Linked DNA regions of Homo sapiens: regions 2, 3 and 4 are each linked to region 1. The links are contacts of gene promoters, found by promoter capture Hi-C in human tissues and cell types (Jung and others, 2019). All regions are on one chromosome and are shown on one strand. The core of a region is centred on a gene start or on the middle of the fragment in contact, and the rest is flanking DNA. Distances in the headings are between cores, read along the strand shown. Region 1 holds the start of NDRG1 (N-myc downstream regulated 1). Region 2 overlaps PHF20L1 (PHD finger protein 20 like 1). Region 3 overlaps TG (thyroglobulin). Region 4 overlaps TG (thyroglobulin).

Region 1 (7,025 bases), core at 2,700-5,199:
TGAATATTTACTTGTTGATTAGTTTGATCCAGAAGAAAGGGAGAGATGGATGCTGGAGGAGAGAGGGGGTCCCGAGGGAGCCCAGGACTGGAGGTGGGAAGACACTTTTACGGACACTTTTTCATTTTGACAGACAGAAAAGATGATGGTCTGCAGCAGTAGACCCATAAATTGTGATTGAAAGGTCTGATGGTTTCTCTCACTCGTTTCCTCCATGCACAGAGAGGTGGAGTAATTTGCCCCAGGTACTACAGCTCATAAGTGGTGAAGTTGGAGCTGGGGGCCACAGACCACCGGGTTCTTCTCCATGAATCCCTGCTGCATCTTGGTCTCTCCCAACCCCGAGTACCCATGAGTTTTAAGAAAGACAGTTGGGAACAGGTGATTCCTATGGTCATTTTTGGAACATTTGGTTAGAATATTCTAGTATAAAATCTAAGTTGTTGTTAAGTAGAAATTTCCAGTGGACATTAGTCCAGAAAATCCAATCTCATCCTGTGACGGATTTGCAGCGCGTGTGCATTTACTAAGCAAATCTGATTCTACTGCTGACCAGCGAGAAAGAGGAATAATGTAAACAGTCAGTGCAATTGCACCCACATTCAGCTCCGTGAGCTTCTGCCACCTCAGCTGGCTGCGGTGGGGGATGTGGAGGTGCATGCAGCTCCCAGGTCCCAGTGAGGGGCCTCTGTATAGGGTGGGCGTCCTCTATGCTTTATGTGCATCCAGGCCTGTACTAAAGACAGTCTTTCTCCTGCAGCGTGACACTTAGCTAAGAAAACTACTTCATCTGGTGCTCAGCGGAAGAAAACATCCTTTTCAACAGGGAAGGAAAATTGGCTGTGTTGGGCTGAGGGAGGGGAGTGTGGAATCCAAATGGTGTCTTCCTCAGGCCTTCTCCAAGGTGATGTGGACTCTGATTTTAGAATGCCATCACTTGGAAAATTGTGTTCCATTGCTCAAATTCTTGCCTCCCTTCTCTGCTCTTTTCTCTTCACTCCACTCTCCTTCCTCTGTCTTCTGACCTATTCAATGCTAATGGTCTTCCAGAAGGTTAGGCTTCCCACACAAGCCCAGCCTCCTGCCAGGCAACCTCCTCGGGGTTTCAAGCTGCAAATCTGGGCTGCTCTTCGCATTCTGTCCTGAGGACCTCCTCAAAGAGACAGGCAAGGGCCTCCCCTGGCAAAATGCCCTTCTAATTCCATGCACTAGTTCCATTTGTTACTGAAGAAGTGGGCCGCCTTCCCTGCGCCTTTGAACTTGACATTCCTTATCTTGACACTCCGCACTTTTGAACTTGACACTCTTGTATCTTTAGCAGGTAAAAAACCAAAGGTGCTCACTCAATAAATCGCCGCAATGGGGAGCCTATGGGAAAATGGGTATGTGTAAGCTGGCTAAAGGATAACAGGCACACAGGCTGCTTGATCTGGGAGGGTCTTTAGACAGCAGGATGGCTCCCAGAGATGCACTTTTGTTGTTGCTGTTGTTCATGATCATGTCCCCAGGGTCTAGAATGGTGCCTGGGCATAGTAGGTCCTTAATATAGTTAGGGAATGAATGAGTTCATCTCAACCACGCTGTATGGATGGAGAAACTGCGTCTTGGGGCTGTACCATGCTATGCACCTGTAGAAAATGTTTTTGCCTTTTCAGTCCTTTCCCAGTGGCGGAGTACAGGACCCAGCTCATAAGAGCAGCTCAATTCTGTCATTTGTGGAATGACAGAATAAATAAGTTTCAGGGCCTAGGGAGGCAAGGCTCCTGCCTTAGCCTCCCAAGTAGCTGGAACTACAGCTGCATGCCACTAAGCCCACCTGATTTTTTATTTTCTTGTAGAGATGATGTCTCATTATGTTGCTCAGACTTTTCTGGAACTCCTGGGCTCAAGCAATCCTCCCACCTCTGCCTCTGAAGTAGCTGGGACTACAGGTACTTGCCACCAGGCCTGGCTAGCTTTCATCTTTTTTGTAGAGATGGGACATCACTATGTTGTGAAGGCTGGTCTCAAACTCCTGGACTCAAGAGAGGCTTCTGCATTGGCCTCCCAAAGTGCTGGGATTACAGGTGTAAGCCACTCTACCTGGACACAACATTTTATTTGAAATAAGAAAAATTTTCCCTCACTGGGAATGCTGCAGTTGAACTAGTTCAAATCCATAAAGAATGGAAGACTGCCCAGTGGTCATTCATTCACTTATTAATTCTAGATGTTAAATTTTCTAGGGTGGGGGAATGTGCTCCTACATTCAAGGCATTCTTGAATGTAGCCAAACTTTGTAGTTTAGCCAAACTTCATAGCTAATAGCCAAACTTTGTAGTTTAGCCAAACTCTTCTAGCAGCAAAACCCATGACACTGGAACTCTGTTCTTCACACTGGTCATTTGTAATAGAATAACAGAGCTTTAGCACTAGATAGGTTCTGAAAGATCATTGAATCTAATCCTCTCCCTTTGCCAGTGAGAATTCTGAAGCCCAGATTTGTTGATTTGTGATCGATAGTGTCAAAGACAGGCCTGAAACACAGATGTCCTGGGTCCTAGAGGTGCTGTTTGCCCCTCTCCATATTTCTTTTGTTCCAGAAAACCCTTCTCCAAAACTGGCCCTAATAATCAGAGGGGAAAGCCATGGCCCCTGCCTTGGGGACAGCATGGGTTGGCACAGAAAAGAGGTTTACAATTCAGCAGGAAGTGTTGTGCGTGCGCGCGTGTGTGTCTGTGGAGGCGCAGGGAGGGTCACCTGAGCTTGCCCTGGGTCTGGTCCTGGGCTCAGTGGCAAATTCAACGCTGGGCAGGTGGCCTGAGGACAATGACGGTGCCAGCTGTGAGTCAGACTTCCTTTATTCATAAAATCATGTTCCTCCATGCAGTGCTTCTCAACCTGGCTGCACGTCAGGAGCCACCTGGGTAGCTTTGTAAAAACCCCAATGCCCAGTTGGTTTGCACCCCCTGAGATTCTGATTAAACTGTTCTGGAGTCCATCTCTCTCTTTTTATTATCTATCTATTTATTTATTTTTTAATTTGGCGGCTCCTCTGGGACTTCTCATATGCAGTAGGGGTTGAGAATTGCTGGTTTCTTTGGCCAGATGGGAACATGCAGGCCAATAGTTACGCACAAACAGAGCAGCAGAGCAGGACGGTGCTAAGGTTGGAAAGGGTGAGTCATGAAAGTTCAGGAAATCAGAATAGGAAGGGGTGAGAATCCTCTCATCTGGGCTTGTGGGGCAGGAGAGAAGAGCCCAGTGGGCAAGGTCCAGTGAGTGTGCTTAGAACTGGGAAGATGAGGGGAAGGGTAAGCGCTGGGCGGCGGTGGGCAAGATGGACGAGATTAAACGGGAGCGAGGATTTCAGCGAGAGCTTTGGCGACACGGAAGGCTGAGAATCGGAGGGAGCCTGTCGGGCGAAAGCGAAGGCGGCTGCTGGGCAGGCAGCCGAATCCGGCTGGAGAGCCGAGCTGGTGAGACCTACAGGAAGTGAAGGGAGTCGCTCAGGGCGTGGCGCAACGAGACTCTTAGAAGAAACTCTGAGGCAGAGATGGGGGGCCTCCGCCCATACGGAGACACAAGGAAGTCCACATGCACACGCACGAGCGCGCACATGAACACGCACAAGCACACAAACGCCTCCTCCGGGCAGGGCACACGCGCCCGCTGCACAGGCCGAGGCCCTGGACTCGGAGGGGACTGCAGAGCCGACCCACAACCCGGGCCCCGATGCCCCTCCCGGCCGCGCCCCTACGACTGCTTGCGCAACAGGCGGCGGCTCCAGTGGGCGCCCGCCGCGCGCTGCCGGAGCCCAGCCCAGCCCGGCGCGCCCGGGAGGAGGGAGCAGGGAGCGGGGAAGGGGTGTGTCCCGGCTGCGTGCTGGGACTGCGAGGGTCTGGGAGGGGCGAGGCGCGGGGGCGGGGCCGCGGCGCCTATAAAGTCGCCCTCCGCCCGGACGTAAACAAACCTCGCCTGGCTCCCAGCTGGTGCTGAAGCTCGTCAGTTCACCATCCGCCCTCGGCTTCCGCGGGGCGCTGGGCCGCCAGCCTCGGCACCGTCCTTTCCTTTCTCCCTCGCGTTAGGTAAGCCCGCGCCCTCTTCTCCCAGGCGCGACGCGGAGCAGAAAGGGGCCGCCCGTGCGGTGCCGCTGGAGCGCCAGGACCGCCCTTTGTAGCCCCGCGTACTCCAGGAGTAAGCGCCCCGGAGCTGCAAGTGCGCGGTCACCCCGGGGCGCGGGCGCGAGGGGGCTTTGGGTGCAGACACCGCTGAAGTGGGGGGTTCAATTACGGAAAGGGAGGAAAAAAAGACAGGGTCCCATTCATCTCCCCCCTAGCTGGGGATTGGGGTTCTGGAGGTCGGGAAGGGGGCGATGAGACGGTCCGAAAAAATACCAGGATAGCGTTTCCTGGCGTCGTCTCCGAATCCCAGCTGGCGCCGCTGGCAGGGGTGCGCGCTGGACGTGGGTGCAGAAGGGACTAGGTGAGTGTGTGTGTGTGTGTGTGTGTGTGTGTGTGTGTGTGTCTGTGTCTGGGAACGGAGAGATTGCGCGCGAGTGTGTAGATGAGGGGTTGGTAGAGGTGAGTGGCGCTGGCAAGGAGGCTGGAGAGGGGGGCGTGGGTGTGTCTGGCTTGCAGACTGGGTCGGGAACGGGTGTGGATCCGAGAGGCTGGTGGCGCTTCAGTCCCGTAGCACACACAGGGCGGTGTGCATGTGTGAGTGTAAGCGTGTGTGTGGGGGGAGGGTCCAGGGTGTGTCACAGTGCAACACGCGAGCCGGAGCAAGTGTCTGCGAGCGCCACTGGGCAGGGTGCGCCCCCGGAGGAACCCGGGATTGGCGCATCGGCGGCGTGGGAGAAGTGACCTGGGCGAGAGGGGTCTCGCGGACATTTGGCGGCCCCTTGAGCTGGCTGGAGCTAGGAGTGGCGTCATTTTCGCCTCCGCCCACCCTCCCCCGCTTTCCTCCCCTCCCCTGCCTCTGGTGCTGGCCGCTCCTGCCCTCCACGGGGGAAAACAGCTGGAATTACTTCGACGTTCCTGGGGGATCCGCCGCGGTCTCTGATTCAGCCTCGGGAGGAGATTTCGGGCTGGGCTTGGGGAATGCGGCTGGTTCTGGGGGAAACACGCTGTCACGCCTCTGTCAAATTAGTAGCTGGAGCTGGGATTTAGTGGGTCGGTTCCTTACCCACCCCTCCCCCATATCCCCCGCCTGTTGTCCCTGCTGTCCCTGGGGGTCCTGAACAGCACGCCTCTGTGGCTTGGAAGTGGGAGATGCCTGGCAGTGGGTGGGGGAGGCAGGGCCCTTGGTTATCTTATGCCCATCCAAGAACACCCCTTCCTCACGGACGCTGGGGGCACTTCAGTTTGTTTGGTTTCTTTAAGCTACTGGGAAATATCTAATATTCAGAAGTCAGCCAGTGGCCAGGCAGGAGGGCGGTAGACATCCTTATAATACCCATCAGCTGCACGGGACCTTCTCCTAAGCTGCCTCAAAAGAACATATCTAAATACAAACCCCCTGTTCTTGCTGCAGAAATGTAGTTTCAAGGCGAATTTTTCAGTCTAGACTCTTCCTGTTGAGAAATTCTGGCGTTCTTATTGAGTTTCACAAATGTGATTGAAATAAGCAAGGTACAGAGGGGGCAAACCCCAGCGCCTTTCTTGGAAGGGCTGCCTTCTGGTGGGGAAGACACACGGCTGGAGACGCAGACCGGTTCTGTGTGGTGTGTGTGGCGGCAGAGCCAGCCCCAGGCTGGGGTGGCACAGTGTCGGGGATGAAGGAAGGTGTAAGGGAGAGAGAGGGTTTTGGTGTGGATGGAAAACTGGGTGTTCCCCTGACCTGTGACTTCTTAGCTTTGTGGGACCGTGTCTCCCACTGCATCTGGGCAAGGAGGAGGATTTGCCTGCCCTGCCCTGTAACCTGGCCCCTGGCCCAGCGCCTGGCAGGTGGGAGGAGTTGAAATATGCACATGGGATGAAGTGGATGGCTCTGGGTCTTCTGCCCCATTCTCCTGTGAACCAGCAGGTTGAGTTTCGGGCGAGGTAATAGACTGTGCATGGGTGGAGGTGTTGGCTTTTGCTTTTGAGGGATCCTGGAGTGTCTGTTTGGGTCTCTTGTGAGGAAGTTCTTTTGGAGCAACAAAGTTTGATCATTTGGAATGGAATAAAAAACTCACACAGGACCTACCTAGTCCAACTTCTTTCCATTTTACAGATGGAAAATGAGGCACAGGGATGGGGAGGGATGTGCCCAGGCCGAACTGAGCTGGAGCTCAGCTTTGTGAGAGGCTCCTGGGTGGGACTGAAGGCAGTGGAAAGGGTTCCTGGCAGGATTTTGCCTGCCTGCTATGGAGGGGCGAAAGGAAATTGCATCTTCATTGAATTTCTGGTGAGGAAACTTTTGAGGCCAAAGGGGCAGAGCGGAATGATTTTTTTTAAGTGTAAATCAGGTGTTCTTGAGAGATTAGCAAAGCCAGCCTGAAGGGCAGGGGCTTAGAGGCTGCAGCCCCCTGAGTTGGCCTTTGACTGAATGGGGCTGCCCCCCCCCCATGACAGAAGACAGATCTCAACTGAGCTGAGGGCCCCCCTGGGTTACGTTGAAATCCGCTGGCCTGAACTTGCCTCCTCATGGACCTGAAAGAAAGATAGCATTGTGTTTTTCGGGTGGCCCAAAGCTGCAGTTCTTCCTTGGGACCCAACCCCAGAGAATCCCATTCCAGATGTGACTCAGAGGCCTTGTCCTGGGAGAGAAAGCGTGATGACTCAGCATCTGAGACTCAAGCAGGGTTCAGGTTTGACTCAGCCTGGAAGGAAGGCCAGGGAGGGACACGACATCTCTCTCCCTCCAGAGCAGCCACTGTCTCCCTCCATCTGCCTTCATCCTCGCAAGAACGTTGCCTGGATCGTATTGCTCCATTGAATGGATGAGGCAACTGAGGCCAGGAGAGTTTCAGGATTTGCCTGTTGCCATATGGCTCAGGTGGGAGAGCCAGACTTTGAACCCGGACAGTTGGACTTCAGAGCCTTTGTTTTTTTTCCATGACA
Region 2 (7,025 bases), core at 3,190-5,689, 480 kb after region 1:
CCTTATTTTACCACGTGCTAGAATTTGGTGACCAAAGTACCAGAACATTAGTTTGTAGAATAGTAATTTTTAAACTAAATTTTAGCAACAGAACATTAAAAAAAAATTATCTGGCAGCTGAATACAAAACGCAACAACAAAAACCAAAACACAAATGGAGCTACTCTAGTTAGAGTCAGAGAGGCAGATCTCTGAACCATGCCTGCCTGCACACAACTCAAAAAACTAGTAATGTAGAGTGATTTCTCAAGCCTCTTCTGGTATGCTAAACATTACAGATTCTTCTGACTAAAAAGAGAGGCAATCCCTGAGACTCTCCATAGAAACCCCAGGCTCTGTAGAAGCCATGAACATTTGGTATGAGGGTGGAGGCAACAGAGTCTCCAGCTGTAGTTTTGTTTTGAACGAATCTGGAAAATAAACTGAAAAACAATTTAAAACAAAAAGACTTTTAAATAGTAAATGTAAAGTTGATGTGAGATGTTGGAATAAAAATGAAGGCCATTTCAAAACCCACCACAGGCAGATGAGGTAGAACTGACAAGATGCTTTTTTGCCATACTTAGACCAACCCCATGACCTACTTCTGTTTTTCACTGGTGATAAAATGGATTATATTAACCAATCGATAATATAATTCATGAACACTCTACAGAATATTCACTAAGAAGAGTCCAACTATCTCATCTATGATAGTATCATAGTATCTATGTAAGTATCTATGTAATAAGTAAATACATTTACTTGCATCTACATTTCATTCAAAAACTAAGATGACTTTGAATGACACTGAAGCAAAGCCTGATGCATTTCATCGAATGCTACCCGAAAACTCAGGGGACCTGCTCATGGACATCCTGACGTTACATAAAGGTACACTCTGCATGGCCACGTCAAGCCAACATTCCTATCCATGCTAACTAAGACATGCTGCAATAAAACAGGAAAATGCTCCTTGAAACTTATTTACTAATTTGCTAAAAAATAAAAAAAAAATGAAGATGGGTTACTAAAGGTATTTCTTTTAATACAAGAATAACTTTTTAAAATGGCTCAAAATTATATGCATACAACCTACTAATGCCAATTTTGTCTTCACAGTGGTTACAAACAATAAGTTATCATCTCTAAGGCTATCTTAATTGACGTTTTTAAGCAAAAATAATCCTACATCATAATCTTTTTTTGGAATAAACATAGACTCTATCAAATGCCTGATTAATGATAAGTAAAACATCAACATTGTAGAGCCAAAAGTGACCACAGACATCATCTACTATAATCTCATCATATAGATGAAAAACTGAGTTTCAAGGAAGCAGGAAGAGAAGGCAGATGGTTTGTCTCTCCAGAGTTTTTAAGAGGCTCTACCAGAGGCCTCTTGGGGCAATCTTTTGTTCCTTTACACCCAAGAGTACTTTACACCTATTCAGGCACTTAATCTTGCTTTAAATATTTGTATTTCAGTTATTAGCTTTGTGTCCCTTCTAGACTCTAAGTTTCCAGAAGGCAGATTCCACATCTGTTCACACTGTGCTTCCCACCTAAAGAGAATTGTGTTGACAAGGGGCAATAGATAACTGTTGGCCCAAGGTGCCTGTGAGAACCTGAACCAAGAGTATTTTTCAAAAGACCCCTTTTCAAAAAACTTGATTTACTCTATCCTCCCAGATACTAACAGAATTAAGATTTTCTGAGGCTGTATCCTTATCTAAAATTGGCTGGCTCTGTGACAAAGCATCCTGATAGTAAAATAAAAACAAAGGCATCAATTTTTACAAAGATACCAATTACTTGTTTGGTAATGTAGGCAGCAATAGCATTCTTAACAGTGGCTAGACATGTGGGCATCCACCCCAGCAGAAGAACATACGAGAGATTATTGCAAGTTCATTATCTCTATTGGAAAACAATTAAGAAAAGTTGTATATAATAATTGGACTATCTGCAAATCTCATCAATCCTTCAGCATCAAATGCTAAACTCAACAGTGTGAATTTATCTTGCTCCCCCAAAAGTAAAAACCTAACCATGTTGAACAATTTCACAGTTAGCAACTAACACCCTCATCATTCTAAACTCCCCAAGAGTTTCAATTTGACAAAAATAACTCAGAAAATGTCTCTGACGAACTGTAAAGAATGTTTTCAATTATCAGTTTTAAAATTCAACAGTAAGAAAATTTACTTTTATAATATGGACACCAACAAAACATACATGTGTGTATGAGTATGTGCATATATGTACATATGTATCAGAGAAATAAAAACATAAAAACCTGGCACTTTGGCTCTAGATGTAAAAGGACTTGGGGAACAGACAGAAGCATAACAAATACTGCAAAATAGTCAAGAGAGGGTGAATAACAAAAAGGTTAAGGAGAAAAGCATAGAGACCACCGAGAATTTCAATGCACGTGGGACAGGCACACAAGGTTGTAATCAAAAGGTGTTCAGTCAGAACATGACCTAAATTGCACTACTTTCCTCAAAAACTAAAAATTAAGAGGTCACAGAAACAAATGAGAATTTCACCTCCCTCTATTCAAATACTGTGTTCAACCCTCTAATAAATCTTCAGTAATTAACAATTAAAACTATGCATTTCCTTGCTATAATCAATTAAAGTTGACAGCTACTGTACTATTAAGCTCATCATATCCAGATAATCCTTACTCTTCCACAAATTCAAATTATAGCTAAACTCCTCTCTACCTTTTACTTTCCCAGAAAACGATCTTACTTATTTTACTTTTCCAATAGTTACTGCTAATATTTAAAAAGGGAAAGAATATTCGTGTGCCTTCCTCTAAGGTAGTCAGCCACATTGCCACAAATATGCTAGAAATTCTGAAAAGAGGAAGTTAATAATCTGGTTAGAAGCAAAATCATCGAAGTCAAGGACTTCCATGCACAATCACTACATTGATATTTTATGATATATAATCTGTTAATGTAAGACTCTTAGTTATTACACAGTTACTTATATTGGCCTATATTTCAATATTGTTACAAATATTAGAATACTTTTAAAGAAAAATGTAAATATTTTCACATGTACATTTGAAAATAATTTTCCCAATGTATATACAACCTTATAACTTTAACATATTTTTCATATATTCAGTACGGTAACAAATTCCAGATCGTTAAAGAACCGAATAAGACCTTTATCAAAAAAGTATCTCAATGGGTCAATGACAATTTGGAAATCTTGTGGAAAAGTGGAAAAGAAAAATTAATTATCTTAAGGAAAGACCAAGAGTCAAAAGACAATAGATCTGATTTGAGAAACTACAGGAAATGTTTCAAAATCTACAAATATTCACATTTGGGTATTGTTTTATTTTTTTAAACATGATAAAGAATTATCATGTACAAAGTAACTTCAACCTTTATATAAAGATAAAAATTAATAAAAATAAGTATATGTCTCTTATGTTACTTCAATCATTTTATTTCAATACATGCCATCACCAGAAAAGAATAAGTTTCATTTTATGCTTCATCCAAAAAATGGATAAAATGGTTTCAGGGAAGACGCCTGTAAACACAATGATCACCAACACCCTTGGTAACGAATCAACAAACTGCCTTATGTTTTTCTCCAACTCACAACAAACTAAATTCAGACTTCCTTCAAACATCTAGTTCCAACAGTAATTTACCAGAAGTGCATTTGTAACTAGTATTGGCCTTTTTATTTTATGTGTATTCTAGATCAGGTTATAATTCTTAAAAACTTCTAAATAAAACAATGCACCCACATAAGGGAAACATGAATAGATATTATTAGATTTAAAATATCAGCTTGGTAAAATACACATCCAAATGCTTTCGAACTACAATAAATATCACAAAATCATGCAAAAAATGTGTTATTAAGGATGGCTGATTTTACATATTGCACTCCTCAAATAACTTTACAGCAAATTTAATTCAATTTGGAGGATTCTGCCCCAAAATATGGAATTATATTTAAGATACAGGCATATAGCTCAGTGTTTCTTAAATATTAAATTCTATCAAAATCCTTAAACCAAAGTACTGATCCCATTAAGTATTTCCCAGCTTCAAAAGTAAGAATTCCTGTAACTATACTTGGCTCTAATAATTTATATTTAGTAGAAATAAGGATATATAAAAAAGAAGCAGGGAGAAGGAAATAGATCAAGTGACAAGGTTAAGCAGCATGTATGTCCAGGGAATATGATTGTAAAATGATCACACAAAAGACCTTTAAAACGGAGATGAAACTCTCCTATAAATGTTAAAGTATTTATGAAAAGGAATTATATAGGAATCAAAATAATGTAGTTAAACCTCAAAATGTTTATACCTAATAACTGCAAGCCTAGCTACTTATCTACTTATAGGAGCCTTTATTTTTTTTCTTTTACCTGCTGCTGCTGGAGCTCCTCTTCCATCAGCTATTGCTTTGGAAGAAGGATTTGGAAGCATCTGTGTATCCTCTTTTTCTGCCCTGGGACATTCATTACGGTAAGAGGAATCTGAGGCTACCGGTGCTGTAACTTCTGAACCACGACTTAAGTCAAGAGGGAGACAGGGTCCCAGCTTCTCAAGTGGCAAATGTGCAACATCAGGCACTACACAAAATAAAGAGTGTAATGTAATATTAACACAGATAAAATGGCTCAGTTACTATCACTGTGAATTAAAGTGTTACATAATTTAAACAGTGCCTGGCACAAAGAAGGCACTCAATAAATATTTGTAGAATAAGTGAAGTGCTTATAACTCCAGAAGATATAAGAGCAGAAATATCTTAATATTTTAATAATCTTTATCTCTTAGTTTTTTCTTTATCTTCTTTTATGTTTGGTTCTATAGGAAATCAATATACATTACCCTCTGGTACTGAAGATTCTTGCTGATTTTGAGAACTGATGGAGAATACTTTCCCATCAGTGGCTGGAGAGGGAGAAGAAACCTTTTCTACAGAATCATCAGGCATGGGTAAGGTGGCTAAACGCTGAGATCTTCTTCTCCGCTCACTATGCTTGAAAGGTCTAGGGGGATTCACAGGCTGTGGAGGACCTAGAAAAAGATCTTCAATGTTCACGAAGCAGATACATACCAGGAGCATCTTACAATATTTAAGGAGATAAATGGGAAAAAATGATTTATATTCTTCCCTCTGATGTTGTTATAAGATATCCACAAGGAATGGCATGTTCCAAAGGTAATCAAAGGCAAAAATTGTGCCCTCATTCAAAATGAGTCAATCAAAAATTGTAAAATCTACACTCTACTAGAACTAAAAGAAAATAAAATGGAACATTAATTTCAAGTAGCTCCCCCAAGTGACAGACTACAGTTAATTTCTCTAATTGCAGATCGTTGTGTAAATTGCCATTTTTCCTTCGGGAAAATAGTCTCTTTACAGCAAAAGATAAGGAAAAATATATATATATGTATTCCTTTTGCTACATTGCAAATCTAGAAACTCTAAGGGAAAAAAAGGCAGGGACAAAGATGATACAACATTATAGAGTTAGTGATTTACTTTACACTAATGTAAATAATTTTATCCCATCATCATCCCCCCCAAATGGAGTTTTATAAACATGTCTGGGCCTGATTCATTAAAAAAAAAAAATGAACAAAAACAACTTTGTATACTTATTGTGAGCAAATAATGAGGATATTTAAGATTATGACATTGTGTACTTGTGTTTTTTAACAACTTGGTAAGTAATTTAGGCATCTTCTAGCAATATAATATAAATATTTGGAAATGTCTCTCACACTTTTAGATATCTTCTTTCTACATGGCATACAAACACATTTGACTAGAATAGGCAAGATTATATATGCCAATATATTCATGTTAATTTAGAAAGAGGAAATAAGAACAGTCTAAAGACATTGATGTTTGGGTATTTAAGAGTAATTTTACAATCAAAACGAAAAAGACATGCTGATAACTTAAAAATATGAAAGAATAAAATTTAATTGCTATAATATTGTGGTTATAATACCAAGATATAATTTCCAAAATAAAATGTTTATTAATGTCATATGACATTCCAGTGACTACTACTGACACTATTTCATGATAAATGCCATAATGAAATGAAGCTTATTAGGAAAACAATTGAATTATGTTCCCATTCTTTCCACCTATTAAAAAGAAAAAGCAAAACCTGATCAAAATGAAAAAATGATTCAGTAGAAAATATGGCAACTGAAGGAAAATAGGTTAATAAGTTTGATAAAAGTCTTCTGAATGCCAACATCTTTGATTATTCTGGAAGACACAATATGGAATAAGGAAACATGTCATATTCACTCAACTGATCATGTATTTCATTTTTTGCATAAAGAGCAAAAAAAACCATCATTTACCAACTGACTTTTCAAATAACTGTTATTCATGTCTCCAACTTAGGATACTAAACTAATATGAGAAACTCAGGGTCAACACAAATCTTGTATTATTTATATATACAGATATATAGGGAGATAGATAGATATACCCATGTGAAAGGTGTTTTCGAAAAAGACTGCGTTAACTCTTGAAAAATTAGAAGTACTGAAACAGTAAAATCTTTAAAAATACAATCATGGGGGCATTTTTTTTTCATTAAAAAGATTAAACTGAAGTCTAGACTATAAATATTATAATAAGAATGAATAAAATGTATTGCAGAGGAAAGTTATAGACAAGTGGGGACAAAAAATCTACAGGAATAGTCTTAAGTAAAAATAGCTATCCTGGGTCTTTTTATAACTTTTTTTTTTTGTAATGAATCAGGCCTCTCAGTATGCTTGGATTATGAGTTGAGGAGAGTCAAACTACAGTGGAATCTGTGTTATTAAATGGAAAGGATTCTCAACCAGCAGTAGTCTCTAAGCAATAAATCAGTAAGAAATGTCTATGGTTTTTGCCCCTGAAATAGTTTCAAGCCTTCCCTATCATATCCACTTGAGTTTTTAAAAAGCAACTTCATAAAAATACAATATAACTACAATCAAACTGTTTTTAATGTATCTTATAGGATA
Region 3 (7,025 bases), core at 3,858-6,357, 350 kb after region 1:
CAGCAACCCACAGATGATGGCACCTGAGAATCACAAGAGGTAGGAGAGGTCAGTGTGATGGAGGGGGACCTTTAGAGACTCTTCTCTGTCCCCTGAGAGCATTTGCAAATAAAGATAGGTGACAGCGTCTCAGGAGAAGACATAGACACTAGAATTCAAGAGCCTGGTTTTAAATTGAGACAATCCTGCCTGTGATTCCTGCAGTTGTCTTATTGGCAAATTTCCAAGGGGAGGGCCACCTTCAAGCCTACTGATCCTTTCCCTCCCTATGAGAGCTTTCCTTCATGGCATCCATAGCACTGACAGCACCTCCAACTTCCTGGGGGCATCACTGCCAGAATCCTCAGTCACCATGGTCTACACCTGCTGAACGGGGTGATTTTCCTGAGCTGCTGCTGCTTCAATTTCCTCTTCCTTTTTCTCCTCCCCTTCTGCCTCATTTCCCATCATATTCACTCTCTCTCTTTCTCTCTCTCTCGCTCTCGCTCTCACTCTCGCTCTCGCTCACTCTCGCTCTTGCTCTCGCTCTCTCACATGCACACACACACACAAGATCAACCTTGAAGGGTCTCATAAAGGAGTACTTAGATTCAAAGTAAGAAACTTTTTTTGGGGGGGGACGGAGTAAGAAACTATTAAAAACTAAGACCTATGCACCAATGACACATATTTCCCTGTTAGGAAGTGAGCTCCTCGTCTTTGGACATATCCAAGCAGAGACTGTGTGTCCATATGCCTAGGATGTGTGGAGAGAAATCTGTAACTAGGGGAGATGACATTGGACTCTTTTATCTTGAATATGTCTCCTGACTCTGAATTTTAAAAAGCTACCCAAAAATTATGACTTTGTTTAGCATCAGAAAGACCTACTCCCAAGGTAATCGAATTTGATAGTGATTTTAGCTGGATACATTCAAGTAACTCACACGTTTTTTTATATCTGCTATGTGCCAGCCACTGTGGTAAGTCTTTAAGTATATTAATTCCCTTAATTCTTATAGACATTATTATCTCCATTTTACTGATGAGGAAACTGAGTCTCATGTAAGTTAATTAAGCTGCTTGAGGATATTCAGATTTATAAATTTATATCTATGCCATTTGGATAAATAAACCTTTTAGGGAGTAGAGTTGTTCAGACTCTCCTGGAAAAAAAAAAAAGGGCAATATATTATCCCACAACTCCTACTCCATTCCTCATTCTAATTTCCTAATTTATGTCCAATCTGGATCTAGTTCAAAACAATTCTATCTCCAAAATTTCCCCAGAGTAGGTGACTCATGGATGTCTGGCTTAAAAATTTCACATTGTGTCCTTTTCTCTTCTGCTGGCCACTGTTAAACTGCAGTAGTTAAAAAACCAGCAGCAGTGAATCTCTGAATTTTTTTAAGTGGCCTTCCAGGTCATCTCATATGGTGGTTTCTGAACAAGGATGCTTAGACTGATGACATCAGAAATGCAGGGAGGGTTTTGAAAATGCTCATTTCTAGGTATCAACCACAGAGTTTCTGACTTGGTAGGTCACGTGTATGGGGCGGGGTGCATTTGGACATACATGTTTGTAAAGAGCACCATGGAGAATCACTGACCTAGTTAGACCACCTCGTTTTACAGATGGGGAAACCGAGGCACAGAAAGGAAGAATGGTTTGTCTAGGAGCTAAGAAATTGTGGAATGGCCAGCAGGCAGCAAGAGCCTCAGCAAGGTGCAGGCTTGAGGGCCGGCTGTGGAACGTGAGGGCAGCACCAGCAAGGGGCACACTCAGAGCCCAGGAGAGTTCGAGGAAGGCTGATCACTGTGGTCTGGCTCACTTGAAAGCCAGGAAACAGAATGATGGAATTAACAAGAGGCAGAGTGCGTTTTTCCTTTTGCTCTCAGACCTCAGTAGAGAAACCCATGCAGCTTTCCTCTTTAACTAGTGCCAAATGTCCCTGAGAAGGCTGTGCCTGAGAGGTAGGGGCCAGGGAGAGGCTGGAAGTCACTTTGCTGGTCATACATTGCCAGCTTAGCTTCAGTTGCACTCCTGTGACCCTGAGGCCATTCAAGGCCCTCAGAGCCCCACTTCCAAGCAGTCTCCACTAAAATGTAGTTCAGAAGCCCCATGAATTTTCATTAATAACTCTCAGTGGAAACAAAGCCTTAGAGGGGTGGAGATTGGAGGAGGCTAGAGACTTGTTGGGAGGGGAGAAAGGAAAGGAGGGGAAGGAGGGGAATCCACCAGAGCTAAATGACTTTCCAGACTGTGGTAAAGGATGTAGTGGAATTCTGTTCCTGGTCGTCAGCAGATCCAGCCAAATCTTCATAAGTTAAAACTCCAGATTTGCCCACTGGACAAGACTGGGGAAAACATCTGCCCGATACTTTATGTGTATCTCAAAGAAGGCTTGACTTTCAGCACTGCGAGGTGAGTGTTTAGTTCAACATAATTCACAGATCACAGGTTAAACTTGGAGGGAAAAGCAAGCAAGCTGCCAGCCAGAAATATCATGGAAAAAAAGGATTTTGTGGGCTTACCACTCCATGGAACAAAAACATTCTTCCATATATGATCCTAAGGAAAACGAAATCAACCTTTCCAGCTTGAAAAAAATCATATGGTCTGGTGAGTCATTGTGCATCTGGGGAAATTGTGGTATCTTCAGAAAATACATTTAGTTCAAAGAGGAATCCTGGATTTGAGTTATGTTGTTTCTAAATATAGATATACATCAAGACAAATATAGGGTGTGTGTGTGTGTGTGTGTGTGTGTGTGTGTGTGTAACATATTTTTCCTATCTAAACACTAACAGGAATCCACATCACATAATCATAGAACATTAAATGTAGAAGGAATTTTAGGAATCAGCTCATTCCAATCTGTGTTCCTGCCCCACCACTCCAACAAAACATTCTCATTTTAGCCACCTCAACCACTGTGAGCTAAACTCAGCATTTTTCAGGAATCACCTTGTTTGAACTCTCAGCAGCACTCAAGACTGTTGACAACTTCCTCACCATGCAACGCTCTCCCACCCTAGCTTTCGCGAGGATCCACTATCCCCATCTCCTTCTCCCCCTCTGGCTGCTCCTTCTCTATCTCTTTGCATATTCTCTACCTGTTATGTAGCTGTTCATCAAGATCAGCTCCATCCCCCTTTATCTCCTCATTCTGCACCCTCCTCCTAGAAAACTGCATTCATATCCACACATTTGATACCACCTCGAAGCTGTAATTTACACATTTATATCTCCCATCCACACTTCCCTTCTGAGCTCTCGATCTTTGCATCTAAAAACTCAGCTGACATTTTTTGGATGTCTCAAAAGTCACTTCAAACTTAGTATACCCCACATGGACCCACGGCCTTCCTAAATCTCCCTCTCCCATCGCCAAATTGGACATCCAATCTCTTTCATTCTTTGCCACACAACAGGTGAACAAGCTAGATACCCAAGAATAATCATTGACACCTCTTCCTCAACCCCCAAATTCAAAGTCTTATTGAATTTGCCTCCTGGGGATGCTTTAAATCTGTCTTCTATTCCCCCTCTCCACTGCAATAGCCCTAGCCCAGGATACCATACCTTCTACCCTGGACTACTGCGACAGTTTCTAACTCATCTCTGCATCTACTCTGACCCCTAGCCACAACCTTCTCCACATTCAAGCCATGACATGACAAGCGCTCACGTCAAAGTTCAAATCTGATCATGACACTTCCTTGCTTAAAACATTCAGTGGCTTCCAGTCGTTATTAGAATAAAAACAACTATTCATGCCGCCTACAAGGTTCTCCTCACTGTGGCCTGGCCTCTCCCTCCCGCCCCTTAAACCTCTGGCCTTGTACTCTCTGCTCCAGGGACCACGGCTTCCTCTAGGCTTCTCTTCTTTATCCTGCACCCTCTTCCCACAGGGACTTTGCATATGCTATTCTTTCCATTTAACATCACCTTCCCTCTTCTCTTTATCTCATTTAAACTACACATGATTCAAGATTTCGGAAAGTCTTAATTTATCTCTCTGAATGGGGCAAAAGACTTATTACATGTTTTCAATGCAATATTCACTTGTCTTCAGAGTCTAGCAATTAACAATTATCCTTTTCTCCCTCTGGACCTGAGAGGAGGAGGTGGAAACAGTGGGGGTGGGAGGGGGAGTAGAGCACAAGTGTCTATGTCATAAGTCAGGAAAGCCAAGTTCCCTTTGCTGACCACTGGAACACGGGCATCTGGCAGGTCACTTCCCCACTTTGGGGTCTGCCCAATTCAGCAGCATTCCTCTGCACCTACAGTGAGCATGGCTGTCCTAAAGGCTGAGGATAAATAACTCTTTCATAGCCTGGGGAGTTCGAATCCACCAGGGAGATGGATATGTGGACTTGGATACAAAAAGAAGGGACAAAATAGTACTCCAGGAGGAGGAAATCACAAGGAGAGCCTAAAGTTGAATAGGATGACTTGGAGGATGGGGAATCTAGTCAAGTAGTGGGGGTTGGTGGTGAGAGGCCAATTAAGAGACTGGTACAGGTGCCAAGAAAATAATAATACAGGCTTAAATGCAGACTGAGGTGACAGGGATGGAATACACCTCGATCTCAAACAAAATAATAAGAGAGCAACAGGAAATTGGAGTGACAGCTTCACAGAAGGGAAGAGGGCTGTGGGGCATTCAGCATGATCCCAGGTCTGTGGCTCAGGTGCCCTTCACTGAGATCGGCTGGTTTAGGGTAAAAACTATCCATTCATTTGACTTTGAGATTCCTAACGGATGTCCAAGAGGATATATCTGGACAGCAGATGCGTGTATGGATGTCGACCTCTGCAGAGAGGTCACACCCAGAACACAGACCCACAAGAGGTGGAGGTGGGACCTATCAATATCTAAGGATTCAACCCAGAAAGCTGAAGGAGAAGAGAAGGCACAGTTTAAGGAGCAAGAGAAGGGCATCTTGGAGGTCAGGAGAGGAGAAGGTGGAAATAACTGGACAGCAGGAAATAGTGACAGCTGCCAGAGACAACAGGCCTTCAGAGGATCAGAAGATGCCCCTGGTGACTGGAGAGCTGGTAGAAGCAGTTTGGGGGTGAGACAGGGTCTCAGCTTGCAGGGTCTGGCTGTGGTAGAGAAGGAGAGCAACCGGAAAGGCACTCGAGGGAAGGTCGGAGGTCATGGACTCTGTGGTGCCATGCACATGTTGGATTTTAAGAAGGGAGAAGGGCTAAGAACAATGTATCTGCCTTCTGCTGGGGAGCCCTGGAAAACACTGGGCTGGTGACAGGTGGAGAGCAGGGAGGAGGGCAGGGGCATTGTACTTGGCTGTTCTAGCAATGCTATAGAGAAATACCTGAGGCCGGGTAATTTATAAAGTAAAGAGATTTAATTGGCTCATGATTCTGCAGATAGTACAAGAAACATGGTGCTGGCATCTACTGCTGGTGAGGCCTCAGGAAGCTTACATTCATGACAGAAGGTGAAGGGGGAGCAGGCATGTTACAGGAGATCAGGAGTTAGAGAGAGGGGGAGGTGGCATATACTTTTAAGGATCTTGCAAGAAGAACTCACTCACTGTCACGAGGATAGCACCAAGCCATTCACCCCTGTTACCCAACACCTCCCACTAGGCCTCACCTCCAACACTGGGGATCACATTTCAACATGAGATGAGGAGGGACAAACATCCAAATTGTATCAGGCATGGGCCTGCAAAGGTAAGACAAGGGGCTCTTATACCCAGGAGGCAGGGTTAGTCCTTCTCAGAAGGAGACATCCTCTACCCTGAGCCTGGTGGGGATATTGTGCAGATGCTGGAGGCAGCAACAGTCCTCGAGGTGATACCAAAAAACACCTGCTTCCTGATCAGCTCCATGTCTCAGTTAATAGCCTTCAGAAAACCTGGGGTCTCTCTGTCTCTAGCTCAGCTCACAAGGACACCCACTCTGAACCAAATCCTCCCACTCTGTCATCTAAGTACTGCTCATCCCACAAAGCCTGGCCCAAGTTCCTCTTCTTCCTGGAAGCCTTCCCTGACCTTCCTCTTGTTATCCTCTTCCTTCACACTCCAAGACTTCTACGTCTCTACCTCATCAGGCATTTGCATCGCACACTGCCTAGTTCTCAAGCCTGATGCCGAGTAGTGCTCCAAACATGTTTGCTGAACGCCAGCAGCGATGAATAAATGAGTAAAGGCCATTTATTCCCCTTTCACGGTGCACACTGCCTCTCCCACCAGACCCAAAGTCCTTTTTATCTGTTTGTAATGCCTAGAACATTCCATTGCACATATATGGTGATCAATTGGAGTCTCCTGTTGACTTAAGTGAGAACCATAACAAGATATATCAGACTATTTCAATTTTTTCTAATCTTTAGAATTTTTCATAAATTTAATGTGACCAGTCACATAGTGGCTTACAGTTTGATGCTGCTAAGGAGAAACAGGATTGGTTTTCATATAAAACAGTTAAGACTCTCTTAGTCAATCAATGGCACACCAGGAGCCAAATCTATACGCAGCATTTTGCACTCATTATCTTTATAACAAGTAGTCCAGTAGAAAGTATCATTATCTCTATTTTATAAACAAGGGAAGTGCAACTTCATTAAGTAACTTGTCCAAGATCGCACAGCCAGAAAGTGACAGCAGTGACTAGAACCCAGGTCCATAACACCAAAGTCCCTTCTCAACCACTAGGCTACACTGCTGAGTACATGAATTTATTTCCATAAACAGAAGGGCACCTCCATTGCTGAGATACTATTCAAAATGATAGGCCTATTGATCACAGGACCTGGTATGCAGTGGGCACTCAATAGATCATTGTTGAATGAATGATGGTGGGAAATGGGAATGAGCTGACATTTTTGGACCAAATATGTCCAGTCCTGGCTTCACAAGTGACAGTAAGGTGCTGTGGAAGACACAACTTGGGTCAAATCCTGGCTCTATCACTTTTCAAGGTGTCTGAACATGAGCAAATGATTTAAATTATCTGAGCCTTAGTTTCTCAGTGTGTAAAACGGAGCTTGCAATATGCCCCGTAAAGACA
Region 4 (7,025 bases), core at 2,210-4,709, 260 kb after region 1:
GCAAGAGAATCACTTGAACCTGGGAGGCAGAGGTTGCAATGAGCCAAGATCACACCACTGCACTCCAGCCTGGAGACAGAGCAAGACTCCGTCTAAAAAAAAAAAAAAAAAAAAAAACTGACCACAAGCTGATCAAGGCCTCAATGAGATCCAGGGTACGAGGCTAGCTCAGTGCTGGGCTCATGTTATGTGCTTATGAGTGGTGGTTCTTTTGCTCTTTGTCAAAATGTATTTTTCACCCTGAGTATTAACCTGTCTAAGGAAGGACACTCACGGAGTGTCCCCTGCCTGTGCTGCACACTGCAGCTGATCTCTCCAGCCTTTGCATCTGACTTCATCTTCCTCGCCTCATATCCTGGGAGGTCATTTCAATTTCCAACCCATGACAGGTCATTATTTCAGATTCCCACCCGATTAAATCTCCCTCTAAATTCATGGTCTCACCTCCCATTTCTCCAAGGGCACCTGTGTGGGTGGACATTTGAGTTCACAGTTGAAGTCGGACTGAAAACCATGAAACGAGGTCTTCCTGGCTTGCCCGCCCTGTGACAGACTGAGTGTGCTTCTTCTGCTACAAATTCCTTTTGTTCTTTGGCAAGGATGCCCCAGAGAGCACTCCATAAACCCGATGGGAAGTGGGGCCTGTCAGAGGTGTGACGTGCTGTCGAAAACCTGGTGGTGGATTGGCTCTGAGGCCAGGGGTGGCTTAGCCCTGCCGGAGGCCAGTGGCACCTCACCCCCTTGACCACATCATCTCCCCCCAGGGCACAGGAGAAGCACTGGGGTTTTCAGCCTGAGTAAGACTGTGCAGAATTTCCTCAATCTCTAAGATGGCTGAGTACAGCAGAATCAAGTCTTTCTCATGATAACATGGGCTAGGGAGAAGCCTTCCAAGAGACGGAAGCTACATCGTAATGTGCCTGGAAAGATGGGGGATCCTGAGAGTCAGACATTTTATACAGAGATTTTCATGCAAGAGAAAAAAGAAACGGGTTTATTTAACTTTTATTCTTTTTGTGCGTGAGCTTCTAGAGTGAAAGAGAGATTGTCTTCATTCTTTGTCTGCATTCTCTTTGCCCTCTTTATCTTTGTTTTCTCTTCCCTCCCTTCCTGTGTCTTCTACTTTTTGTGCTATTTTCACCTCCTCCTCTTCCTCCTTCTCCCTCTCACTTTTGCTTTTCCTCCTCGCCCTCTTTCATTCCTCCTCTGCTCCCTCCCTCCTTTCCTTCCTTCTTTCATTGTTTCTTTTATCTTTCTTCCTAGAGATCTATTTAGTCCACCTGTTCCATTGTAAATGCACAACTGGGGGGATCAGCGCTGTATGCAGCCCCATTCTCACACCCTGTGAGGTTAATGGATTGGGCATTTGCGGGAAACCCTGGAAGGCTGCGGCTTCTGCAGGCACTCACTTGTTGCTTCATTTCTTTCATTCTGCAGTTGAAGAAAGGAAAGCTCAGAGACGTTCTTGATAATTTACTATCGGGGTAAAGCTAAAATTCAAACCCAAGCTTGGTTGATACTGGATCTTAAACCTCTCTCTCTGCCCATGCCTGGCTAAGTGCAGAGTATACCAGGGCACGCTTACATTTCTCAAACAGCTGGGCGCGTGACTTTCAGCATTGTCACCACCTACCATGCCCCTTTGAAATCTCAGGCCCAGTTCCCCATGGCAGCAGCCAGGGAGCTGCACTGGAGAGTGTCTCAGGCCTGAACCCCACACTGGCTGAGGCGTCCCCAGGGTCCCTGACCGGCTGTCTGCTTCCCTCCTCAGAGGTGGCTGATGGCCTGTGCTGTGTGCTCACCACGCCCTGCCTGACACAAAGCACGGCTGCCCCAGCAGTGAGGGCCTCCAGCTCACCTGTCACCTTGCGTCAGAAGACTGTGGACTGGAGGAGAGTGTCCAGGTGAGTATGGTGTGTGTATGTGTGTGTGTGTGTGTGTGTGTGTGCATGCAAGTGCTCTGTGAACATGTGAGCACAAAACGGTGTGTGTGCCGAGCACATGAAAACCATGGCCAGAGTCAGCCAGCCCTGCTGAAACTGGGGGGTGAGCACCCCCCACAAGTGTAGACCAAGGGAATCCCTGGGTGCAGGGGCAGCTTCAGGCCTCACGAGGTGTGTGGCAGCTCCCCCTGTTTCTGCAAACATTTACTGAGTCCTTATTCTATGCTAGCAATATACATTCTAGCTGAAATATACCACTTTTCCTTTTCTAATTGTTAGGATCCTAGAAAGTAACACATCCTGTGTAAATTTAATATTATTTAAAACCCACTCACAAAGCTTAAACACATCAGCAGAATCCTACAGTGACTTCTTTGTTTTTTCTAAGAGAAAAAAACTTTCATGGATTTGTTCTGTTTATTCCATTGTCAGCCTGTGAATTTTAAAGGATATCTGTAGTTTGGGATTGGTGGGTTATCTTAATAATTCAGTATCAATCCAGACATCCCATTGGCAAATCAAAGAAAATCAGGATCAAAATTATGCGAGACATGAAGAAAACTGCTCTTTCTTGTAAATAACAAAAATTAATTTTTACTAAAATTTACAGCTGGAAGTGTCAGCCATCCAAGAAAAGAGCAGTTCAGACGGGTTAAGTGATTTGTCCAAGATCACACAGCCCACAAATGTAAGAACCAGAATTAAAATAATGGGTTAGAATAATTGCAGTTAGAGTAGTTAGAGTAATAGGTTAGGGTAATAACTAGAATAGTAAGTTAGGGCCAGGCGCGGTGGCTCACGCCTGTAACCCCAGCACTTTGGGAGGCTGAGGTGGGCAGATCACCTAAGGTCAGGAGTTTGAGACCAGCCTGGCCAACATGGTGAAACCCTGTCTCTACTCAAAATACAAAAAATTAGCTGGGCGTGGTGGTGGATGGTTGTAATCCCAGCTACTCAGGAGGCTAAGGAGGGAGAATCGCTTGAGCCTGGGAGGCAGAGGTTGCAGTGAGCAGAGATTGCACCACTGCACTCCAGCCTGGGCAACAGAGCGAGACTCCATCTTAAAATAAATAAAGAAAAATAATAATAAGTTAGAGAAATAGTCACCAGGATTTTTGTTTTTCTTTTCCTCCTGTTCTCATTCTCTTGCCCTTTATCTCCTCCTCTCTCTATGACTCTCTTTTTTTCCCTTTCTCTACTGCCTTTTCTTCTGGCCCACAGACTGCAGGAGGACCCCGAGGGAACAGAGAACCCGCTTGGGGTAGACGAGTCCCTTTTCAGCTATGGCCTTCGAGAGAGCATTGCCTCTTACCTGTCCCTGACCAGTGAGGACAACACCTCCTTTGATCGAAAGAAGAAAAGCATCTCCCTGATGTATGGTGGCAGCAAGAGAAAGAGCTCATTCTTCTCATCACCACCTTACTTTGAGGACTAGCCAAGAACAGACACAATGGTTCATGCCCAAAAGGAACAGAAGTTCCAACTATTGCCTGGGATCTTGCGAAAAGCGAGGTTCCCTGATCCCTGGGAGCCTCACGTATTTTAGAAGCCAAGAGAAGCCACATGGAGACTCAAATTCGCATCTTCTCTATCCACATCATGACCAAAGGAACCCCTCCCTGGTGTCTGATCAGGGCTGTGGCATCACGAAACATTGGATCATGACATGTCGGGCGATGCTTGGAAGAGCCCAGCATGTATGTATGCACACATTGTGTGTGTGGGAAGGACAAAGCCACTCTCACAAGAAAGGGCACCAGGACTGCTCTCCAAGGAACTGGACCTGTCCAGACAGTTACACTCCAAGGTCATTGGAGAGAACTTCTGTATGGGCAAGCCTGAGAGGGAGAGGAAACAAAAGCTGTGTCCTGGCAGAAGGTCTGGGTTTGCAGATGGGTGCCCTGAATGGAACTACTTTAACTAATCCATAGGGACTTCTGGTATGCTTTCCTCTCTTTTTAAAGGAACTTCGTGACACTAAACATTAGCCCAAAGGACTTCTTAGCCTTCAATTGGGAGATACCTTTGGTCTGCTCCTGCACCAAAGCCATATGGGTGGAAGTCAGTTGGCCTCCCTGGTTCTGCAGAGGGCCAGAAGAATGAGAGAGAGGAAGACTGCTGGCAGGGAAATCGAGGAGGCGAGACTAGAACTGCACCAGCTTCCCTGATGTCTGCAGCCATGGCTTTGCAGCGCAGACAGAGCTTCTCTGGGATGCTGGGATTCTTGCCTGTATGAATGCATCAAGTATTCATTTATTGCCCGAATAGGCATTGCATTAAGTCCTCTGTAAGGTGTCAGGCAAGCCAAAAAAAAAAAAAAGATGCGTAAGTCCTAACCCCCAACAGAGGTGTTCACAGTGTAGACAGGGAAAAAATGTATAAACAAATGTGTAAAAAGAGAAATCAGCTCATGGCTTAGGATGGAATTAGAGACAGGTGAGGGACACTCAGGAGCTCATTTTCCAGCTGCTCTTCAGAGTGGAAGGGCTGGCTGGATCGGGTAGGTAAGAATAGCTGGATTTTTTAGAAAAGAAATGGATACAGTCTAAAGAATTAACTCACCCGGTACTTTATTCTAAGAAGGGTCTGGCATCCATATGAGGAAAAATGCTCAGCTCCAGGAAAGATGGGGAGTCCAAGTGGATTAATGATGTCATGCATAATTTTAAGAGACAAGGGAGAAAACACAATGTATAGCCAGAGAAGGAGAAGCTCCCATCCAAATCCTACTAGGAAGAGAGTGGGCTGCAGATGAATCTGTGACTCATGTTTCCCTGTTTCAAAGGGATCCTGGGGAAGGAGGGGAACATGCTTGCAGTATCTCTCCCTGTCTGTCTGCTCACATAAGCATTCCGTCCATCTGAGCTCATCGTGCTACTGGTATGTGTATGTGCAGTTACACAGTTTTCTGTATCATAGATTCTAGTGTGTTTATACAAGGAGACATCTGTGGTTTCCCCAACCGTTCCAAAAGGCTATTTCAAAGGAACCAGCCAACGTATGAGAAATGAATGTAACACTGTGGACATTGACTTCCCGCATAAGGCAGGGTGACCCCCTGAACTCCAGATGTCTGCACAGTATCTTATGTGTTGTTTTCCGTTGTGACGAATGTGATTGGAACATTTGGGGAGCACCCAGAGGGATTTCTCAGTGGGAAGCATTACACTTTGCTAAATCATGTATTTATTCCTGATTAAAACAAACCTAATAAATATTTAACCCTTGGCACACAGGGAGAGTTTCTGGGTTGAGGAGGATGGGTGGTTCATTCAGAAGCTCAGTGGGTTTCAAATTTTCAAATAAACGTGCAACTAGAGAGAGAGGAGTAAAGATCACCCAGAGAAACCTGGTGCCAGTTAGCAGCTCAGCATCTTCTTTAGGTGTGACCTTAAGAAAAAGCAGATTGTATGACTCTGGGGGGTGTCTTACGAAACTTGAAGATGGGCCTAAGGGATTGAAGGAAACACCAAATTCTGAACGATTGTTATAAAAACGTCCTGCCTAGATTTTCTGCACGTTACTTGTGATAGCTGCGCTATTTGTTCTTCCAAGAATTTCTTTCTGCAGATATTTCTGGACACCTACTAAATAGACACTGCTCAGGTACTGGGGCTATAGCAATGAAAACCAGATGAGGTCTCTGATATCATGGAGCTTGACATCATAAATAAACAAGATGCTTGGTAATGATGGTGATGAGGATGAGGGCAGGCTCCAAGCAGTCACCTGGCAGGCAGGACATCCTTCAGGTCCAGGCTTAGGAAAGGCCTCCAAGCAGAGGCAATGTTTGGGCTGAGGCCTGAAAGATGAGCAGCAAACAGCCTTGTAAAGATCTAGGAAGTGTATGGAGTCAGCAGGAATAATGGGGCAATTCCTGCAGGCAGGAAGAGCAAGACTGCATGCTGAAGGAGCTAAAAGGAGGCAGGGTGGCCAGACTGAGGGAGCTAGGGAAGGAGGGAGTGTGCTTAGGAGGTATCAGGAAGGTCCTGCAGGGCCCTAGAGGGTAGGGGATGGCATAGGGTCCATTCCAGGAGACATGAGGAGCCATTGAAAGGATCCAAGTAGGGGGTAAGACCATTTCACTGATATGTTTAAAAGATCATGCTGTGTGGAGGACAAATCTTTAAAATTCCAGCATTGTATTGTCTATTGACACACAAAGTTTGAAAATAAAGGGGCAAAAAATTTTAATGCAAAAATGAACAAAAGGAAAACCTGTGGTGCATTTTGAGACAAAATGGGATTTAAGGTGAAATAAATTGCATAATGGCAAAGAGAGATGTGCAAAAGGAACAAAACATTAAGAAGAAACAATGATTGCAACCTATGTTAATGGGATGATATAGTTTCAGAATATATTAAGCAACTGAACAGGGACAAATAGATAAGTCAATAATTTTATTTGGAGATTTTAATATACAAATCTCAGAAATTGATACAGTAAGCAAAGATAAGTAAATAAATAAATAGGTAGATAGATTTTGATAACACTATATAACTTTTCTGCCAACAAATGGATAATGTATTAGGTCACAGAGAAAGTACTAATAAATTTCAGAGTCAGAATCTTCCAATTCATGCTCTATGATAATAAAGCAATAAAATTGGAAATCAAATTCCAAAATGATGAATAAAAATTTAAAAATTCTAGGGATCTAAAGTCTAAAAAACAAATCCTTAGGTTAAGAAGAAAATAATGCAATAAATAAAATGTTATAAATAAATGACATATTGCTACTTTTCAAAATTTCATGGGTGTAGCTGATAGAGGGTAAATTATTGCTTGAAATAAATTGATCAGGAAACAAAGAATGAAAGTAATGAGATTAACTTTCAACTTAAGAAGCTAAAGGAACAATAGATAACCAAGGAAACGGGAAGAAGGTAGAAGATAACAATAAGACATCAGTGAAATAGACTTCTGAAAACACAGCCATAGAGAAGATTTTAAAAAGCAAAACATTGTTTAAGTAGACTAATGTGATAAAAATATGAACAAGCATGATCAAGAAAGATGATGGAGAATGAAAGCAAATCAAATGCAGTTCTGCTTGTAACCATACCTAAAGAGGGAGTGTG

Evidence for each region. The method cuts DNA at HindIII sites, captures the fragments that hold promoters and counts their contacts. A contact is called where the count stands out against the background at its distance.
Region 2: a contact is called between a fragment that was not itself captured here and the fragment with the promoter of NDRG1 in region 1, in 4 of the 25 tissues and cell types used here (adrenal gland, bladder, heart right ventricle and 1 more).
Region 3: a fragment that was not itself captured here is called in contact with the fragment with the promoter of NDRG1 in region 1 in 2 of the 25 tissues and cell types used here (heart left ventricle and thymus).
Region 4: a fragment that was not itself captured here is called in contact with the fragment with the promoter of NDRG1 in region 1 in 1 of the 25 tissues and cell types used here (IMR-90 fibroblasts).

Annotation. Positions count from the first base shown.
Region 1 is chr8:133,294,176-133,301,200 of GRCh38, reverse strand. NDRG1 (N-myc downstream regulated 1) reads left to right here and starts at 3,949. Exons shown (of 16, transcript NM_006096.4): 1 at 3,949-4,067. RefSeq lists a silencer at 3,619-4,068 and an enhancer at 6,265-7,025. The HindIII fragment of the contact is 13,971 bases long and covers 1-7,025 here.
Region 2 is chr8:132,814,920-132,821,944 of GRCh38, reverse strand. It overlaps PHF20L1 (PHD finger protein 20 like 1), which reads right to left. Exons shown (of 21, transcript NM_016018.5): 11 at 4,869-5,057; 12 at 4,400-4,606. Among named protein-coding and RNA genes, the nearest start is that of PHF20L1, 43 kb to the right of the region's middle. The HindIII fragment of the contact is 4,931 bases long and covers 1,974-6,904 here.
Region 3 is chr8:132,941,774-132,948,798 of GRCh38, reverse strand. It overlaps TG (thyroglobulin), which reads right to left. Exons shown (of 48, transcript NM_003235.5): 27 at 1-23. Among named protein-coding and RNA genes, the nearest start is that of TG, 78 kb to the right of the region's middle. The HindIII fragment of the contact is 6,430 bases long and covers 1,893-7,025 here.
Region 4 is chr8:133,034,877-133,041,901 of GRCh38, reverse strand. All of the region lies in intron 41 of TG (thyroglobulin), which reads right to left. It overlaps SLA (Src like adaptor), which reads left to right. Exons shown (of 9, transcript NM_001045556.3): 8 at 1,772-1,904; 9 at 3,165-5,174. The coding sequence ends at 3,378. Among named protein-coding and RNA genes, the nearest start is that of MIR7848, 8.2 kb to the left of the region's middle. The HindIII fragment of the contact is 3,127 bases long and covers 1,896-5,022 here.